Linked DNA regions of Homo sapiens: region 1 is linked to region 2. The links are contacts of gene promoters, found by promoter capture Hi-C in human tissues and cell types (Jung and others, 2019). All regions are on one chromosome and are shown on one strand. The core of a region is centred on a gene start or on the middle of the fragment in contact, and the rest is flanking DNA. Distances in the headings are between cores, read along the strand shown. Region 1 overlaps ZFTA (zinc finger translocation associated). Region 2 holds the start of MACROD1 (mono-ADP ribosylhydrolase 1).

Region 1 (4,481 bases), core at 1,337-3,836, 400 kb before region 2:
AATACTCTGGATCCGAAAAAATGCATGAAGGAAAGTAAAAGAATGGCAGTGCCCAGCCTGGTGCCATCCATAATCTCCGTTCTCAAGCTTTTAATACTGTCTCAAAAACCGTGGAGGTTCAAACTCACTGGGAATTTACTTTTCAGTCAATTGACAACCCATTCAGGATCTTCCTGAATCCCTGGTGGCCTCCACAACAAAAAGCACAAAGCCCCCTGCCGAGGCAGCCTTGGGCCCTGCGGCAGCCGCCCCACCTCTGGAGTTCTGCTGGGGAGGGGAAGGACGATTGGATGGCGCCTTCCAGCTGAGGCCCTGCAGAGCTCAGTGTGCTCATCCCAAGGCAGTGTGCAGGGCTTTGCCACCTTCAGGAGTCACAGATCCACCGTGGTGGCCTGCATTGCCCAGCATGTCAATCCTTCGGCAGGCCTGACAAATTTTAATAACTGACCAGCGAATTGGGAAGCAGTGTGGCATCGTGCAAAGAACACTGAGTCAGGAGCTAGGATTTTCATTCTAGTTCTTGTACTGTCCCTACCTGGCTGTGTGATCATCTCGGTTCCTGGGCTCCAATTTACCTATCTGTGAAGGTGAGGAGGGTAGTACTAGTGATCTCCAGGGCCCTTTCCAATTCTGACAATCCTCAATTATATAAAAATGCTATAAAATCCGTGGTATAAAATCCAACTCCCAAACAGGAAGCGTCAAGGGGACTGGGCCTGAGGCACTTGAACCTTAGGCTCTGGCCTGGGGGTCAGGGATGAGAGGAGGGGCCTCCTCTTTGCCCTCTGCTTTCCCACTCCTGGGCTCTGGCCTGGGGGTCCGGAATAAGAGGGGCCTCCTCTTTGCTCTCTGCCTTTCCACCCCGAGGCAGGGGCTGGACCACGCTGCCCAGGCATCTCTTCCTCCAGACCCAACCCTCAAGTTCCACCCACTAGCCTCCCCGCCCCGGCTTTAGGACCGCGGGAACTGTTCCTGCAGCAGCCTGGCTTTGTGAAGAGCAGACAGTAGGGCCCGGAGTCTCCCAGCGGGATTAACATCAGCACAGCTAGTTGGGGTCCTCCCGTCCCCGCCTCTGCCCTCGCTCCTCCTTCCTTCAGGTCCTCCCTCCACCACCTCACAGCTTATCTCTGATACACGCATAATAAATAAGACATTTGCACATAAGGGTGACTGGGTCAGCTCTGTCCCCGCCCCTCCCCCTTTCATATAAAAGCATTAAATACAGTTTCAAAATAAAATACAAAGAGCAAAAAAGGGCCTGATCTCGGGGCCACCTGTTCTCCACAGGAGAATGAATCTACACATCCCTCTCGGACCTGCCTGGGAGATCGCGGGGCCCCATCCCTGCCACACAGGGCCTGCGGCTGCCACGGGGAAAAGAGGCCGAGGCCCGGCCCCAGGCCCTGCGGGTTGAGAACGGACGCCGCATCCACCGCGGACAAAGGGGGATGGGGATGGGGCGGGAATCGAAGGCTGACTGCCGGGACCGCCTGTGCCCCGGGCTCCCACGGACTTGGTTTAGGGGTAAGCAGAGACCCTCGGGGCAAGAGGAGCAAAGGAAAAAAGTGCTAATCCCTTTACAAGAGCTTTCCTGGAGGGCGTGGCAGCGGCCTGGGAGGAGAGTGGGGCCGCCGGGCGCACGGTTCTCACTGAGCCTGCCGGGGAGGTAAGCGCAGCTGGTCCAGCCCGGGCCCCGGGCGCGTAGCCCCGCCCTCGGTCCAACGCGCCTTCCCACCCCGGGAAGGCTCCCGAGCCCTGCGGCCCAGCCTCCCGCTGGAAGCCCCAGTCCGCAGCCGGGGCCTCCGAGAGGCCGAGAATCCCAATTAGGGAAGGGCAGCCAGCAGCCCCCAAGCCGGGAGCCGTGCCTGCCAGCGTGCAAGGCTGCAGGGAACTGGGCCCCCAGCCAGGGCCAGAGCCAGAGCCCGCACGGCCCCCCTTCGGCCCTAATACTGACTGACGGCGCCCCCAGTCCCGGCCTGCGGAGAACCCCCTCGCGGGGTGCGGCCGGGAGCGCTCGGCGCTAACACGTGGAGGCCACTGAGGATTCTCGGAAAACGTGGGCCCTGCGCGGGGAGGGCAGGGCTCCGGGCCGATGGGAGAGTGCGCTTCCCGCAGCGCACCGACTGGCTCAGGGACCCAAGTGGCACCGCGCAGACGCCGGTGGCCCCACCCGATCCCCCGTCTCCGCCCGGCCCGGCCAGCGGGGGGCGCGGCCGCGGGAAGCGCTAACACCGGACGCGAGGGTCTCCCAGCCGAAGGGCCGGGCGAGCACAGGGCGGGGCGGGGCCGATCCGACCCGACCCGACCTGACCCGGGGGCCCGCTAGGCCGCTACGCCCGACACACAGCGCCAGACTTGAGGTCCGCGCCGCCGTCACGCGGCGCCGGGGCGGGCGGCCCGAAGCCCTCGTGGCCGTAGCAGCGCAGCGCCGCCTCCTCGTAGGCCTCCAGGATAGTCTGGCGCTCCTCAGGCGTGAAGTCCATGGAGAAGGGGTGCACCTGCAGGATGTGGCGCTTGATGGTGCTCACCTTGAGCGTGGCCAGCGCGCCCCCGCACACCATACACACCAGGCCGCGCCGGCTGCCGTCGTAGTCCATCAGGTACTCGCCCCGCCACCGCGGCTGGTAGTTCCGCCGCTGCTCCCGGCTGCGGGGCGGGGGCGGAGGCGGGGGAGGAGGCGGCGGCGGCAAGGCGAGTCCCCCAGGCTCCTGGCCGTCCTCTTCGTCCTCCTCTTCTTCGGCGGGCCGCTCCAAGGGAGCTCCAGGGGACAGCGGAACGTCGCCTAAGGAGGGACAAAGGACCGCATTGGCGACGGCGGGGGGCAGCGGGCTGGGCCCCGCGTCTCATCTCCAGTCACCCCATCTTTGCCCTTCTATCCCATCCTCCAGTCCCTTCTGCCCCAGCAACTGCCCGGCTCTCCCTCTCCGCCTGCTCTGGCCCCACCGCTCACCCCACTCCTCCTCCTCCTCCTCTGGCTCCTCCTCCTCGTCCCCTCCCCCCTCGTCGGAGGCTGCGGCAGTGCCGGGGGGGATGGGGCCCTGGGGGGACTCGGGGCGGGGCGGCCCCAGGGCCAGCAGGTGGGCGGCCTTCTCGCTCCACTCCCGGGCGATGAGGGCCTGGACAGGCCCGCCGAGGCGCGTGGAGCCCGGGTGGCGCCGGCGGATGTGGCGCTCGATGGTGCTCATCTTGAGCGAGGCCAGCGCGCCCCCGCACACCCCGCACACCAGGCCGCGCCGGCCGCCGTCCAACTCCATGAGGTACTCCAGCCGCCAGCGCTCCTGGGGGTGGCGGCGGTGGGCGCGGCCCCGCGGCGACCGGCCCGGGACCCCCGCCCTCTCGCCCTCGCCCTCCTCCAGCTCCTCCTCCTCCTCTGCGGGCCCGGGCCTCTCAGGGACCCAGCCAGCCTCTTCCTTTACGTCTGGGGGGCTGAGATCCTGAGAGGAGGGGGCTCCAGCAGCGGAGGCCGAGTCCCGGCTCTTTCCGGTCAGGTCCTGGGGGGCGAGGTCATCGCCTGTTGGGGAAGGGGTGAGGGAGAGGGGCTCAGCCTGCTGGCTGGGTTGCCCTTGCCCACTCAGAGGGGTCCATCCTGGCTCCTCACCCCAGCCCCAAGCTAGAGGCCCCAGTCTGTCTCTGTCTGGGGGCAGGGGGAAAGTATGTGTGTGGAGCACCAGCTCCTGGCCTTCAGCCCTCAGCCCTAAGTCCCTGCCTCCCAGTTTTGGCCACAGACCCCACTTCAGAGCCCCAGTATGAGGGGGTCTCAGCCTGGGATGGGCCTCGCACCTGGTGGGGACTGGGTGAGCTCAGACAGCGCCTCGGGCTGGCCCCCCCAGGCCTGCAGCAGGGCACTGCGCTGGGGGCCGCTGAGCCCCAGGGAGCCAGGGTGCACCTCCAGCACGTGGGCACGGATGTCGTCCAGGTGCAGGCTGGGCAGTGCCCGGCCACAGGCCATGCACACCAGCCGGTTCCCCCGCGGGTCATAGTCCATGAGACACTCGGCCCGGAACCAGTTCTGCAGGGACTCCTTCAGCCTCCTCTCCAGGCGCCGGGCCCCCAGCCCCCTGCTGCCCCCGGCCCTCCGGGAGGCTGAGAGGCGCAGACGCCGAGCCCGGGGTGCCACTGGGCCCCCTCGCCGCTGGCGCCGGCAGCCCCCACCAGCTGGGGCTTTGCCTGAAAGGGTTGGAGGGAAGGAACTGAGACGCTGGCCCCACGGGAGCATACCCACTACAGCCAGGTCTCCCACAAGCCTCTCACTCACTTGGGCCCCAGGCCTAACCTTTGCCCTTCTCTTCCTCTCTCCTGAAATCCTAACTCCCTAAACCCTCCTCTGCTAGCATTTCAAGCACCACCCACACCTCCCCCAGACTGGAATCTAGCCCTGTCCCTGGCCTTCACCGTCAGCCACACCTCTCCAGCACCCTCCCCTTCCCTCACCCACCCCAGCCAGGCCTCCCTGCTCCAAGCCTTTCCACTGCCTGTCACCC
Region 2 (4,518 bases), core at 1,444-3,943:
GACCCCTAGAATAAAGCAGGAGAGACTTCGAAGACGAGGTCACAAAGAAGGCACTGCAGCTCCATCGGGGTCTCCTCACGATCCCTCTCGTGGAGCATATGCTCTGGGGGAAAAGCTTAGGACATCTATCCCATGTGAGGCACTCAAGCAGCCCCATGGAGAGGCCCCAAAGTGACCAACCGAGGCCTCTCACCAAATGCCATTTTATGGGAGGGAGCTGTTTAGGAAGCCCATCCTCCAGCCCTAACCAAGTCCCACCCGGCCTCAGAGGGAGGGAGACCCTGAGCTAGAACCACCCAGCTAAGCTTCTCTCAGTTTCCTGACCCTCAAGAGATGGAGAGAATGCAGGTTTGCTGTTTTACGCCACTAAGGTTCGGGGTGTTTTGTTACACAGAAATAGATAACTATTGGGGGATCTCCACATCTCACCCCCGAAAGCGTCCCTCTAACTGTGGCTTCAGTAGCAGGCAGAGCCCCAGACCAGCCCCACTCCTTGGGCCTGGCCCACTGTCACTCAATAACGGGTCTGGAATATCATTACCCAGCTGGATGCCTCTTCTCAGGCCACCACCCCTGAGACGCCTCCTCTGATCTCCCCAGCTCAGGTGGCCCCATCTGCTATGGTGTCTTCACAGCACTGAGGTTACCGGGCCTTGTCTCAGCTGCTAGAACACATTCTTTACAATAGATGCTTTGTAATCCTCACACCAGATTACAAGCTCCATGAGGGCAGGGCCCTTGCCTATCTGACACATGTCTGAGTCCCCAGCCTGACCACCTAGGGGGCGTTCAATAAAAGTTTGCTGCATGATTGGAAATCCCACCTCGAAGCAAAAGGGAGACCCCAGTGACAACACAGCAGCCCAGGAACCCCAGCCCCATCACAAGGTCCGGTTGCTTTCCTGGCACCAAGGAGTGGGGCTGTGGGGGCTGGATCCTAAAAACAGCGGCAGCCCTCGAGCAGGTGCCTGGGCACCTTGTCTCCGTAGCTCTTTCCCACCCTCCTGGGTTGTTGTCCTCTGAGAGAGTGCTCAGGGGAGCAGGGGTCTCTGTGGGGACAGTGGCTCCCCCTCCAGGGGTCTCTGCCAGCCCCAAACTCCTCCTGCTGTTCTGGGGCAAGGGCCAAGTGCCTGACAAGTTCTCCATCTGCTCACGGGCTAAAGTCGGTGCTTTCTGCCGTCACTTTTAGATCCTGGCGCAGGCCACACAATTCATGTCAGGAGTAAATCATTTTGATTTCCACCTCTGGTCCCGAGAAAGCCATCTTCTCTTCACCCCTAACACCGCAGGACCCCCCCATCCTGCCTGCCCAGCCCAGAGGCCACACCTACTCCACCACGGAGGCCCAGCCAATTAGCCACTTCCCTGCACTTTTGAAAGGGGATCCAGCCGGGAAGAGTCACAGGATCCCAGGAGGCAGGCCCTGAAAGGCAGGGGCAGCTGGGTGCCCGGCAGGGCTATTTGGGGCTCAGTAGCGGCAGCTTGGGTTCTCTCTCTCCCCAGGCCCCAGACTCATGCCCCCTCCAGGAGCAAGAGGAAGTGGTGTGATTCTTGAAGGGTGTCATCAGTTGTCACAGGGACAAGACCCCACCTCTGCCCTGCTCCTCTAACCTCTGTTCCTGGCATGAGCAAACTGCTCACAAGTGGCCAGAGGCCAGCGAGAAGGGGAAAAGGGCGCCAGACCACGTGCCCAGGAAGGCATCAGAGTGCGGGCTTGGGGTGGGGTGGAGGCAGGACAGGCCAGCCCAGGAAGGTCACTCTGTGAGGTTACGTGCCCCACCAGGTGGGACGCCAGCCCCGGAGCTGTTCCCTCAGCCCCATTCCCGAACACTTAAGAACCACACTGTGCAAAGTTTGGAGAGTCCGGGATCATAACCTCCACTTTGCCACCAGCTCCGAGTGACCTTGGGGAAGCCAGCTGTGGCACTCGGCCTCAGTTTCCCTCCTGCACAGGGAAGGAAGTTGGTAGGTCCTGCACAATCTCTGGGGTGCCCTGTGACCCATTCCAATGGGGTAAGGAAGGCCGCCTTCCTCACGCTGCCCCCTGCGTGGACACTTGGACCTGGTCTGGAGTGAATTGTTCTGTGGGGCTGGGAACACGCGCGGGGGCGGGGGGGGCTGTCAATGGGGAGGAGGGGTCCGTTCCAGGGCAGATGGGGCCTCAACTTCCCCAGGTCTCTCGGGTGGAAGGGGCTGCTCGCTCGTTGGGGGCCGCCCAGCCGGGAAGCTCCACGTGAGGCCGCCCTCTCCCTCGCGCCCCCTCGTGCTTACACTTACATTTCGCCTCCTTCCAGTCGGTGGAGGTGCTCAGGTCCACCTTCGCCGCCATGGCCAGGGGGGCCCAAGTGCGCACCCCGGCTGTCCGCCCCACCGCCGCCGCCCCCCACGCCCCAACTCCCGCCGAGGTCCGCGCACGGCGGCCGAACACGCCCAGGAACGCCGGGGGACCGCACGTGCTGCTGCGGGTCCTCGTGGCACCCGCCAAGTGTCCGGGCCGGGGGCGCGGGGGGACGAGCAGCTGCCCCGCCGCGCGCAGCTGTGCCAGGCGGCCGGACAGTCGGCTCTGTAGAGACATGAGCGGGCGGCGCGGGACGGCTCTCCGCCCACTTGGACTCTATTTACGGCGCTCGGGAGTGTCTCTCCCTTATTTACTCTGGGACCGGGTGGCGACTGCCAGCCAGCGGCGACCTGCTCGGAGCCAGCGGGAGGCGCGGCCAGAAAACCCGGGAGCGCCGCTGGGCACCCTGGAACTTGTAGTCCGGGCCGCCGGATGGGCCCACGCACTCGTATACACACGTGCGCGCCCGCCCGGGCTCCCAGTGTCGCGGATGGAGCCCCGCCTGAGCCCTTCGACTTCTCCCGTGGCCGCCAGGCGCCTCCCCTCCGCGAGACCTCGGCCGCCTCTAACTTTCTGGTTGGCTGAGCGTCGGCTTCCCCGGCACGGGCTGAAGCCCCCGGGCCTTCCACGCAGCCCCGGGCCCCTCTGCCGCTCGGCCCCGCGGCGGAGCAGGCGCGCCGGCCGCTGCGTATCGAGCTGGGAGAGCCTGGCGCGGCTTCCGCAGTGCCGAGCGTTTTGCAGCCTGGGAGACCCGGGCTTCTCTCCCCGCGGGTCAGCAGGGCACCGCCTCCACACCCCAGCCTGCCCTCCTAGGGACAGGTGCGACGAACGGGTAAATCCGGTTTGGGGACTTCTCCCCAGAGCCTCTGCCTTCTAACAGCCCCGGGGCCAAGGCTCAGCTGGAGCAGAATCTAGGACAGCTGGGGAGGAGAGTCGAGGGTGGAAATAGTGGAATTTGGAGGCAGGAAACTTAGGCTTCAAGTGGCGTTCAAGGGTGGAAGGATTGGGGTGATGTTTTTGTGTGTGTCTGTGTGTTTTTTTTTTTTTTTCTTTTCTTTTTTAAACAAAAACCGGCCGGGCGCGGTGGCTCACGCCTGTAATCCCAGCACTTTGGTAGGCCGAGTTGGGTGGATCACGAGGTCAGGAGTTCGAGGCCTGCCTGGCCAACATGGCGAAACCCCGTCTCTACTAAAAATACAAAAATTATGCAGGCGTGGTGGTGCATGCCTGTTAATTACAGCTACTCGGGAGGCTGAGGCAGGAGAATCACTTGAACCCGGAAGGCGGAGGTTGCGGTGAGCCGAGATCGTGCCATTGCACTCCAGCCTGGGTGACAGAACGAGACTCTGTCTCAAAGAAAACAAAACAAAAAACACGAGGATGGATTTTTAAGTACTTTTATATATTTTTATGTACTATTAATATTACTTTATGATAAATATAATGAATACAGGCCGGGCCATTATAATAATATAATGAATGTAATAATGAATAATGAATAAGTGCTCACACCTGTAATCCCAGCACTTTGGGAGGCTGAGGCAAGAGGATTATTAGAGGCCAGGAGTTCAAGACCAGCCTGGGCAATATAGTGAGACCCCCTCATCTCTACCCGCCCCCACACAAAAAAATTACCCTGGTATGGTGGTAGACACTCACCTCTAGTCCCAGCTACTCCAGAGGCTGAGGCAGGCAAACACTTGAGCCCAAGGGTTCAAGGCTACAGAGAGCCATGATGGCACCACTGCACTACAGCCTGGACGACACAGTGAGACCCTATCTCAAAAGTAATAATAATAATGAATATATTTTAATACGAGGGAGGAACGAGCCAGGGTTTCAGAGAAGGTTCTAGTACTAGTGTTGCTGCCCTAGGGTACCCTAGCCCCTTAAGACTCAAACTTCTTGAGCTGTCAGCTAGGAATAAGAGAGTCTGGCTGGTTGCAAACCTGCTCCTGTGCTCCAGGCCTCTGACTCTGAGTGTGGCAATAACCATGGATGGCCGTACGAGGATCCCTGACCTGCCATGGATGCAGATGGAACCACTGGGATGGTGACACGGGCTCACCCTTGGACTCCAGACATTAAATCTGCCCAAGAGAGGATCAGCATAGACTTGCCAGCAGCAGGGTAGGCAGTCATCAGTACTGGGAGTGAGGGCAAAGGGGAGCCAGAGGCCA

The links. The method cuts DNA at HindIII sites, captures the fragments that hold promoters and counts their contacts. A contact is called where the count stands out against the background at its distance.
Region 1: a fragment that was not itself captured here is called in contact with the fragment with the promoter of MACROD1 in region 2 in 1 of the 25 tissues and cell types used here (spleen).

What each region holds. Positions count from the first base shown.
Region 1 is chr11:63,761,088-63,765,568 of GRCh38, forward strand. It overlaps ZFTA (zinc finger translocation associated), which reads right to left. Exons shown (of 5, transcript NM_001144936.2): 3 at 3,781-4,167; 4 at 2,951-3,511; 5 at 1-2,782. The coding sequence ends at 2,331. Among named protein-coding and RNA genes, the nearest start is that of ZFTA, 5.4 kb to the right of the region's middle. RefSeq lists an enhancer at 528-1,287. The HindIII fragment of the contact is 7,859 bases long and covers 1-4,481 here.
Region 2 is chr11:64,163,420-64,167,937 of GRCh38, forward strand. MACROD1 (mono-ADP ribosylhydrolase 1) reads right to left here and starts at 2,694. Exons shown (of 11, transcript NM_014067.4): 1 at 2,278-2,694. The coding sequence starts at 2,575. It overlaps LOC105369339 (a long non-coding RNA gene), which reads left to right and starts at 2,819. Exons shown (of 3, transcript XR_950187.3): 1 at 2,819-3,170. RefSeq lists an enhancer at 2,213-2,713 and silencers at 2,251-2,350, 2,481-2,560, 2,821-3,080. The HindIII fragment of the contact is 20,905 bases long and covers 1-4,518 here.